Linked DNA regions of Homo sapiens: region 2 is linked to region 1. The links are contacts of gene promoters, found by promoter capture Hi-C in human tissues and cell types (Jung and others, 2019). All regions are on one chromosome and are shown on one strand. Each heading gives the region's core, a stretch centred on a gene start or on the middle of the fragment in contact. The rest is flanking DNA. Distances are from core to core; before and after follow the strand shown. Region 1 holds the start of LIG4 (DNA ligase 4). Region 2 has its middle 50 kb from the start of MYO16.

Region 1 (5,656 bases), core at 2,926-5,425:
AGATCTTACAAAGATCACTGAGATCATAATAAATGTTTATTAATGTTTACTAAAAAAAAGATCAATGCTCTAAATGATGTATCTTTTCAACCTCTACATTTAATAACTGTTTTGCTCCAACCCTAATTTGAAGTTATTATGAAAAGTATCATCAGCTATATAGCTGTATTTCCTGTATTTATAATACAGAAATCATTTTAATTTTCTCTTTAAATTCCAGTTATTCTATGTATTAATTATTTAGCACATAATACAAACAAATATTGCTAATAATGGTGACAAAAAAACTCATCAGGCTTAATTCACTTCACTTCTGAGCTTCTGAGGGAAGGCCTTTCATGTATGTCTCTTCTTTCCCTGTCAGACTACCACATAGCACCAGAAATGAACTTGATCTTCGAACAGATATTTTTAACAAATCACTCATTTGCTGAACTGAAATTTGACTTCCTAGAAATCCTAATCATAGGCAGGGCCCTTGACCAAAAAACAAAACAAAGGAAAAAACAGGTACCCTCTTCTTCCAGCCAAACAAAGCCTACGTCTATGTTTCCTTTCACTTCTTCACTGCTAGCTATGCCAAATCACACCAGCATTCGATTCCAACTCAAAATGCCCTACCCATAAAATCCTCACTTTATCTATTTTACCATAGTTACTTACTGTCTTATAAGTATAAATTTATTAGTATGCTGCTTTTTTCATATTTCCATGCCAGTTATTCCCTGAGTATTTAATGACTACATATGAGATGTGCTACATACACTGTGCTAGGGGAAAATACTGCATGTTTCTGCTTTAAAAGAAAATATATTCTGTAAAAAAAAAAAAAGAAAAAAAAGAAAAGAAAAAAAGGGGGGGAGTGTAGTGGAAACTGAGTATAATAAAATGCCAAGTGCTTTAACAAAATAAAACAAACGTAAAATGTCCTGAGGGGAGAGCTTTTCCCTAAAGTATCTGCTAAAGTCAGAGAAGAAATAATGGGTACCTTGCTAAGCTAGGGCAAGAATATTTCCTAAAATTTCACAAGTGTAAATTTCTTTAGTTTTAAATATTCATACAAGTTCTACTGGAAGATAAATATATTAGAGTAATTTTAATATGGTTTAAACTATGTAATGTTAAATAACTTTTCCAAAAAAAGATTTCAAGTAAAATGTATGGTCCATGAATAGAAACTATGTTTTATCCTGTGGTTTCAGACCCCTCCTGGCACACCACCATGTATCCCAGGCAGTGGAGTTGGAGAAGTTTTGCTGGGAGTGGGGAGATCTATTACAGTGCAGAAAATATGTGACTCCCCATCTTCCAATTCGCAAACAAATGAGCAACACACACATGCACAAGGCTACATTATCTAGTATCCAGTAAAATAAATCAAATGGCTAATTACAATACTACATTTACTATACTGTCAGTATCTAGAGGCCAGGAATTGTGCTGTAATTTGTGCTCTAGTGGCAGACATGTAGGAGGTTTGCTGAATGAATTACTGAACACCTAGAGTTGACTCCTGGATAAGCACACTAGGGAAAGCTATGGTCTGGTTACATACCACACACTCACACACGCACGCAGACACACAGTGGGTGAGATTCAGTTTGGTTAAAAATATTCAGTAGCTCTGACTGCCCTGGCAATGGTTTACAACAGCCATTTGGTGGCCTATAGAGAAAAAAGGTGCACTTCTCAGTCTAATTTCTGACAAAGGAAACCCAGCTTCTACTGAGTGGGTTAGATCGAGGGATAAACGCATGACAGACCACTTTCCTGAAACTTTTATCTTTGAATATACTGTTGTTTCCTCTCTCTGAATCTGGTTTGCATAACTGACTGTAACACCTGGTTATGTATGTTCACTGCCCTATCTCCCAAAATTTGCTCCCTCAAGGGAGTAAACAGGGTACACAATGCTATATCTACAATTTCTATATAAACTATGTAAAATAAAGTAGGTTAACTAATATTTCTTTAATATTCAAATATTGGTATATAGTTTCTACAGATATATCTATAGATTCTACATGGTCTCAAAGTTAAAGTTTCGCTCAACAAATCCCAGGCAAGGACTTAAATTACTTTATAATGACAAAATGTAGGTAATGGTGTGGATACACATGTATCCTAAAATGGCTACGCCTATAACAAGGATTCCAAAATTGCCATAAACTAGTCGTAAGTATTTTTGCTCATTACAACGGCATAAAAAGTCAAAGATTAGGACTTCCATTCATTTTTACATGCTAATTTTATTTTTTGGATTCTGAGGATTTTAGCTGATTCATTCCATTTGCAGTAAGACAAATGAGGAGGTTCCTGGTTAGGGCTCAGGTTTTAGACTCTAATAAATCTGAGTTCAAATGTGGATGGTAACATTTAACAGCTGTGTGATACTGGGCAATTACTTAATTTCTCTAAGCTTCAGTTTCCTAAAGTATAAAATGGGGTTAAAAACTATGTAGAAATTAGAATGAAGATAAAAATCAGATAATCTACAAAATGTGCTTTAAAAAGTAGTAAGTCTTGATAATTTTAATACTATAATGCTTGCTGATCCAAGCAACATTTAAAATATAAATATTGCAAAATATTAACGAGATAAAAAGGTGGGAAGAAGCTTCACTCTTTAACAATAAGCAAAGCTTTCAGGAGAATGAATGCAAGCAATTAGTACACAATAACGATTCATCATTCATTCAGTTCTGACTAAATTGTCCTGAAGTGACACATGAAAATAAACCGGCAGGTTTTATTCAGTGACTATGGAAGGTGATTAAGTGCTATGCTATTGCACTTAAAAAAGAGAGAGGAAAAAAAGGAGTAAGTGACGAATGCAACTGAAGTATCCTTCATGCAACCCTTGACAAGCTGTGTTTCCCTAGGAAACAAAGGGTTTACAGCTGCCTATCTTCCACAGCACTTAGTGACAATTTGGGACAATCTCAGCAAAAAGAAATGAGCAGACAAAGACGCTAGAAGGGCTTTGGGATCCCAAAAGTTAATGAAAGACCAAGTGTAAGAAGAGAAATAAAGTAATTCCCTCCAAGCCTAAAGTCTCTCCCGCTCCAATGCCCCCTGTACCCTCTCGGAAAATGGAAAATCCCTAAGGAGTCTACATCATTCCTCTGCCCGTTCCCCCTACTCTCCCCCAACCCTTCACGGATTCCCAGTGAATACCTGGCCTCGGGCAAGCTCCGTTACCTCTGTGAACCAGAGAATCCCAGCTGTAAAATGAGATCTTGATGGTTTCCTGCGGGGTTGCCATGAGAAAGAATCAACATGTACGCAGGTAAAGCAGGCAATACAGTTCCAGGGAGTCAAAAACGGGAGAAATCGTCCCACGACCTGGGGCTTGGGTCTAGATGAAGAGCACAGCATCAGGAGGCCAGGCTTCTAATGCGGCGCAGTCTACAGCGCTGTGGACTCGGCAACTCCCATCACCTGCCGCTGCACAAACACCCTGCTTGCTGCCCCCATAGACCGACCCCCGCCTGACGCCTCCCAGACCCCCCCACCTGACGCCCCTCAGGCCCCCCGCCTGACGTCCCAGACACCCCCACGACCGGATCCCCCAGACCCCCAATCTGACGCCCCACTTCCCCTACTTGACTCCCCACACATCCCCCGCCTGACGACCCCCCGACCCCCGCCTGACGTCCCAGACACCACCCATCTGATCCCCCAGACCCCCAATCTGACGCCCCACACCCCCCACTTGACTCTCCACACACCCCACACCTGCCACCCCACGTAAACCCCGCCTGACACCTCACAGACCCTAACCTGACGCCCCACAGACCTCCCCCGCCTCCTGCCGCCACACACACCCCAAACCCCGCCCCGAACACCCCCCACCTGCCGCCCCACAGATTCCCCCCTCTGACGCCCCACAGACCCCCAACGTGACGCCCTACAGACCCCAACCTGACGTCCCACAGATACCCCGCCTGACGCCCCACAGACCTTCCCCCGGTCTGTTGCCCCACAGACTTCTCGCCGCCTGCTGGACCACACCTTCCACTTGACTCCCCCCACACCGTCAATCTGCCACCCCCCACCCCCCCCACCCCAACCCCCCCCAACCTCCCAACCGCCCCCACCTGCCACCCCACACCCTTCCCACCTGACGTCAAGCCTGAAGCTCAGCCGCTAAGCCGGAAGCTGGCGCCAGAAGATGCCGGTTCCGCCAGCTGCTCGCCGCGCAGGCGCAGGGGAGACCCGGGGCCTTGCAGTCACCGGGCTCAAGCACGCCGGCGCAGCCAGGCTCGCGATGGGAGGTGGGGGGGCCGGCAGCCCCGTGGGGCTGCGGAGGCGGGACCTGCAGGATCCTGGTTAGGGTCTTGAGTACACACGGCTCCTATTGGCCTCGGCAGCAGATGCTCTCTGCAAGCAGTTGATCCACACGCCAGTGGATTTTGTCTCGAGGGAGACCTAAGATCACTTTGTGCTCTGGCTAGTGATAGCCTCTAATTCTTGTTCTCTGTACGTAAAACAGTGGTAACTATACTGATTTCGCTGGTTGTGAAAACTCCCAAGAGAGAACAGGACATCCTCCCAACTCAAAACGTTGGTTGTTTCATTTAAACTTTTAAAAAATAGGCTTTTGCAAACTATATAGAGCTGTTTTTTTTTTTAAATGATGTTTGCTACTGTGGTCTCAGTTCTCTTAATACAGAAATAATACATAACAATACATAACTTACAATATAGAAATAAACCGTTGCATGACCAGAAATCAACTATGGACTCTTCTAGTATCTGTTTAAGGTTTAAAAATAAAGTTATTTAACAAACCTTTATTGAGCACCTATTATTATATAGTAATGGTGCTAGATATTCAGGGTGGAGAGATTATAAACAACCCCAGTTTTTGTGTTCCAGGAGCTGTTGGTTTCCACCGAATTTTTGCTGTGGTCAGTCCTCTTTCGCCATGGAGAAGTGAGAAGTTATTCATAAAGAGGGGTGGAAACAACTTTTAGAACTATTTTATTTTAGCATAAAATATTGCTTTACAATAAAATAAATTTTGCTGCAGTGGGCCCTGATAAAACATATTAGAGCTGTTAAGTGCCCTTAGAGGTTGTGTAATGTATAAAAACCTCCTTTTTCAAAACTGACACATTTCATTCAGTGCTAGTTTGTAGCGGAGGTTCCGTCTAGCCCAAGAACATTCAGTTATTTACTTCGTATGTCTAATTGACCTAATATGCCTGAATATCTAAAATCATCTGTGATGTTGTAAAGTCTCATGATATTGTTTTGTGAGTATCTGCTCTTCAATTTAGTTATCAATTTATTTTGGAGGAAAAATGAATAGTGTTAAGGTAGAGGAGCCTCCACTTGCCCATCTTAGGAGAGGGTACCTATCCGTGTACATTTGTAGCTTGTTCAACCTCTACTGAGCTCCTACAATGTCAGAAGCTGGACTTTGTATTAGTTACATGAGAAGAACCATGAATTATGAAACCAGGCAAACTCCAAATTGATTCAAAGCCCAGTCTCCATTTCATCATGTTATTTTAGTTGATTGGTTCAAAGACAATCAAGGGTTTTTTTCACTAAGTATCTTCTAGAGTTGCCATGATTATTAATTTATTTATGTAAATGGTCTACTTTATATATGCTTGGCACTTATTCCGTGATCAAGATTAGGAAG
Region 2 (5,656 bases), core at 1,369-3,868, 360 kb after region 1:
GTTGTAAAGTTCTTTTGGGAAGTACTGAAGCCTGAGAGTTAGTGCATTGGCCACTGTCATACTGAGGAACAACCAGCTGGTAATATTGTCTTCTGCTATGAACTGAAGGAGTGAAATGGAAGAGTAAAATGTGGGATGGAAAACAATAGTAATTATATAAAGCATTGTTATTTATTCGACACACAAAATGTAAGAATCTATGCTATCTGAAAAATAACATCTTTAACTAATTCTTTTTCATTTTGAAAGTAACTGCTCTTAGTTATGAGTGATTTTATTCAAATAATCCATTGAATTATGAATATAAAAGTTATTGTCCTTTTGGCAAAATTGACTGTAACATATTTTTAATAATTTTAGGGGCATTTCAGCTTTAAGTTGAATTCCCAGTGAACTTTGCAGTGTTTTTCTTTTCTTTCTTTCTTTTCTTTTTTTTTGAGACAGGATCTCGCTGTGTTGCCCAGGCTGGAGTGCAGTGGTGCAATCACGGTTCACTGCAGCCCCAACTCCTGGACTCAAGTGATCCTTCCACCTCAGCCTCCTGAGTAGCTGGGACTACAGGCATACGCCACCACATCTGGCTAATTTTAAAATTTTATATAGAGACAGGGCCTTGCTATGTTGCCTAGGCTGGTCTTGCACTCCTGACCTCAAGCGCTCCTCCTGCCTCAGCCTCCCAAGGTGTTGGGATTACAGGCGACAGCCACTGTGCCCAGCTTGCAGTACCTTTCCATTTGATTCAATTTTTCTAAAATTCCCCACCATACAGTTTTCTTGAGTTGTCCTTTTCATGAGGTGTTTGGTCATTTTTTGTTTAATGCAATATGACATTTCACTAACTTTTAAGAGCTATACAAAAATGAATGAGAAATGCCACATTGATGTAATTAACCTGTCCTTGGAGTGTGCCTTCAGGAGAGTAGTGACTTAGAGGAGGGAATGGCTAAAGGCTGGATTCTCGAGGCAGATAGCCAAATCTGGCTATTAGAGAGCCTCAATGTCTCATATATAGGATGAGGATAATGAGAGATCTCCTTACCATGTTGTTGTGTGCATATAATACACATAATAGAAGCTCTCTCTGTGCTCCAGCACCGGGCACCAGCACAGCGTGGTCTAGTTTATTATCTTCCTGACTTCATGGCTTTAATTTCTGTCTCTCTCCTCCATCTGGAACACCACATCCAACTCTTCCTGCCAGCATCAATTCTGCTCTACCCTTCAAGGCCTCACTCATGTCCCATTCTTCCTGGAATGCTTCCAATCCACTGTGTGTTATATGATCACTTTTAATATCTATTCCTGAAATAGTGTTTTCTCTCCATCACTTGGTATTAAAGTTGTCAGACACTTTGCACTGACTACAAGACATACTTATAGTCCCATTTACATTGTAATCATTTTGATGCTAGGAAAGGTGATCGAGAAGTCTTTTATTGACAAGGTATTTTAAATGACTAATTAACAAGAAAACTATGTATCCATATATTTATAAAAATCCCTAAACTTGCCCCTTTTACCCCACCCCGATATCTCCTCCTGATCATCTAATTCTATTTTCATTCCACTTGAGGAGTTGTATTTGAGTAGCTTAATATAAGAGACAAAATAGCCCCATCAGGGATCTTTTATCCCTTTACTACGCAAGTATATATTGTGTGCTCCTCTTTATGTTTTGATCAAAAAATTAGTTTTTAAGAAGATCTGGAAAATGAAGTTTTCAGGATTAAATTACTTCTATTTCTTTGTTTTTTACCTGGCTTGAGAAGCAGTTACCAATATCAAGCTTGGCTTTAAGGTAAGTATTTGACTTCATATTTATTCGACACATAAAAAGCTGCCGTCAGTTGCCAGGATTTGTGCATTTGTCTGAAATGACCTAGTAAAGCTGGGAAATCTGTGTAGGGTTTTCCCATGTTTAATTCAATAATTAAAATACTAAAAATGTTATGTAAACTGCCATTTGAAGAGTGAAAACCAGATAATGAGAAACGTGTTTATATAACAAAATATCTCATTGCAATCCATTTCACAGTTCCTATTTTAAACCCAAATGGGAGCAATTATGCAAAATTAAATATCGAGGTAATGGCAGTGCCAGATGTCCATTTGAGGACTTTAAGACTGGAAATGACCACTTAGAAAAGGCATGTTATAAACAAGCATCTGGCCCAGGATTCCATATCCCTTTTTGTTTGGTGGGTGCTGTGTACTTATAAAGACTCTCCTTTTGAAGAAAGCTGCCAGTGTCCTTGCCAGGGGTCCCACTCTTCCCTCCTTGCCTCATCTTCCCCACTGGGATGTCTGGCTGGAAAAACAACCTGGCATCCTGGTGCCCATACATTTCTCGTGTTCAACTTCAGAATATGGGTACTATTCGTCGAGATACACATCACTAAGAGCATTGCGACATTTTCACATCCCCAGGTCCTTTACTTTCTAATTGGTCTTGTGGTGTGTTCATAACTATGGACTGCATGTGGATCACAACAATTATTGGGAATACATTTTCAGCTCACATATATATTTATTATACATTATAATTATATGTATTATGTATTTATGTATTATTACATATATTTATTATATAATAAATACATATTTATTTTACATATACAGTTATATGCGAGCGTCAGAACACTGTAAATATAATGGCTGTGAAATTATATCTTTAAAGTCTTATTATATTTAGGACCATGGAAAATTTGAAAGGGGTTAATAATATGATTTTTTCCTTTGTAGGGGATGTTAGGGTAGAAAGACCAATGGCATCTTCAAAGGCTGCTTGGCCTCTTGTGGAAACTTGGACAGAGTGGTGGCCCATGCCCTGTGTAGTTATTTGCAGTTACGGTTGTGTGTCCTTACCAATGTGGAAGTAACTTGTGTCTTTTGACTGAGTCTCTTGCAGTTTTCCCATGAGTCACCATTGCCTTGCAATAACCTCAGTAACTAAATGAAAAGCTGTTAGAAATTTAGTATCTAGAAGGATCATCTCAAAGATGACTGAGTTAGAGCCTGGAAGAGAAATCCGTTTGAATGCATTTAGGTCTGAAGGATTAATGCTGATCATTGAATTTCTATAAATGCTAAAGGCAAGAATTTTTTTTTTTTTTTTTGAGATGGAGTCTCACTCTGTCACCCAGATTAGAGTGCAGTGGCGCGATCTCTGCTCACTGCAACCTCTGCCTTCCGGGTTCAAGCAATTCTCCTGCCTCAGCCTCCTAAGTAGCTGGGATTACAGGCGCCCTCCATCACATCCGGCTAATTTTTGTATTTTCAGTAGAAACGGTGTTTCACCATGTTGGCCAGGCTGGTCTCAAACTCCTGACCTCGTGATCCACCTGCCTCGGCCTCCCAAAGTGCTGCGATACAGGTGTGAGCCACCATGGATGGCCAAGGCAAGCTTTCTTTTTTTGTTTTTTGTTTTGTTTTGTTTTTGATATCTCCAAATTAAGATAATTCTGTAGAAAAATAAAGAGCCATGCCTATTGTTTGGGCATTTTAATTAATGCATATAGCTGGCCACTTCCTAAATAATATTTCAAACTGCTATTACAATGACTGCTATTTGTTAAGTAAGAAACCATTTGGAGTTTAGGTGATTTGTGATCAGGTGTTTTGAAATTCATGATAATTTATAGATCCAGGGATTCCAATGACATTGACTAATTGACTGCATTTTCCTGAGTGGCAAATAATATAATTCAAATACGTAATAAATCAATGTTTGATACTTAAAAATATAGATGATAAAAATAAATTTAAAAAATAAAGTCAATAAAAGAGTTCTAATTAATGTCATGGTTTGCACATACTGAAACACTTAAACAGGAACATTTTGCTATACTGCATCCCTGGATAAACATTTTCCTATACAGCATCTACAGATTAGAGGTCCAGTGTCTCTCTTTACTAAATCATACCCATAATGCAGACCTTGAGATTTCTATGCTTAAAATTCTTCAGGTTAACCTAGAACCAAAAGATACATGTGCGACAATTTGAGGGCAGAATCATGCTAGGTTTTTCTCGATTTACCAACCTCAAACATCTAAAGTTGTTTATCCTCCTACTAGCTGGACAGTTCTTTTAAGCCACTTAGTGTTTACAAAGCATTAATTTTAGTGTTCCTAGTAACAACTCTCTCTTTTTGCGCTCAATTTATCTGTTTATTTGGTTAAATTTAAACTATAACAAGTAAAACTGACATATACACGTTTGTTCCTAGTAACAACTCTGTCTTTGTGCACTCAGTTTATCTGTTTATTTAGTTAAATTTAAACTATAACAAGTAAAACTGGCATATCCATGTTTGGGACTACAGGAGAGTGCACTCTTGGTAAGCTCACATCTCTACAGGTGGAAGTGGAATGCCCCATTTGCCTGGAGATGATCCCAGTGGCTGTCTGTGCTGGGGATGTCACTCACACAGTTCAGAGTACTTTACAGTGGGACTGGAGGATAGTCAGTAAATAGAAGTCAGTTGAAAACTTCCAGAGTAGCTGCTTGTTTTGCATAATTTAGCAATTCAGAAAATAACATATATAAATACATGTAACACTTAGACTGAATAGACAGTCTAAGAATACTGAGAAAAATGAAAGTGCATTAATTGTTTTATAAGCCTTCAGCAAGCATGTTTCTTTCTATAATGAAATGTAAAATTAAGTTTTTTTCTTCTGTATGGAAGAAGATGTGAATGGTGATTTAATTACATTAACTTCAAATACATTGAATGAATACACGCTGCCACCTGTGTGCATATGATGAATACAGTACATATAAACATTTTAGGATATTATTTTTGAGTACCCATTTTAGAAAAGTGAAAAGCGATATAAGAACTTATTAAGATGATTTATCATTCACTAAAGTCATATAGCAAAAAGAACAAAGTATGTTACCTAATACAGAATTTCTAAATGTAGAACCATATCCTGGTAATGTGAATATGATTAGAGATTCCAGGTGGAAATCGTTTTTGACTGTCAGAATCTTAAATCATACCCAGATGATATAGACATATAATATGCAAGCTACATTGAACATCCAAACTCTATTACTGTCTAATTCTTTTTCAAGGATGTTCGCCAATAATTGAGGTATCTTTTTTTCTACTTATATCTCTCGCCCTTCTTCTTGCCTTTTTTTTTGTTTGTATCTTGCCTGTATTTCTCTTCATTGTGGTTCCATTAGGGTTTACTCTATTCCTACTCTCTCTCATTGGATAGCCCTAGGCAATGTTACAAAGTAGGGGAAGTGGACAGGTGCAATGGTTCATGCCTGTAATCCCAGCACTTTGGGAGGTGGAGGCAGGTGGATCACCTGAGGTCAAAAGTTTGAGACCAGCCTGGGCAACATGGTGAAACCCCACCTCTACTAAAAATACAAAAATTAGCCAGGCATGGTGGTGGGCACCTGTATTCCAGCTACTCGGGAGACTGAGGCAGGAGAATCACTTGAACCCAGGAGGTTGCAGTGAGCTGAGATCATGCCGTTGCACTCCAGCCTGGGCAACAGAAGCGAAACGCTGTCTCGAAAAAAAAAAAAGAAAAAAAAAAAAGAAAAAGAAAAAGTAGGGGAAGTTTGTCAGCACTGTTAGAAACCAGTGAAACAATTTGGATTTTTACAGCATTCCCAGTGTGTTTATTGAGCT

The links. The method cuts DNA at HindIII sites, captures the fragments that hold promoters and counts their contacts. A contact is called where the count stands out against the background at its distance.
Region 2: a contact is called between a fragment that was not itself captured here and the fragment with the promoter of LIG4 in region 1, in 1 of the 25 tissues and cell types used here (stomach).

What each region holds. Positions count from the first base shown.
Region 1 is chr13:108,211,361-108,217,016 of GRCh38, forward strand. LIG4 (DNA ligase 4) reads right to left here and starts at 4,176. Exons shown (of 3, transcript NM_206937.2): 1 at 4,124-4,176; 2 at 3,178-3,250. RefSeq lists an enhancer at 4,101-4,395 and a silencer at 4,239-4,378. The HindIII fragment of the contact is 8,794 bases long and covers 1,028-5,656 here.
Region 2 is chr13:108,576,343-108,581,998 of GRCh38, forward strand. It overlaps a transcript of MYO16 not described here. Among named protein-coding and RNA genes, the nearest start is that of MYO16, 50 kb to the right of the region's middle. The HindIII fragment of the contact is 5,236 bases long and covers 1-5,236 here.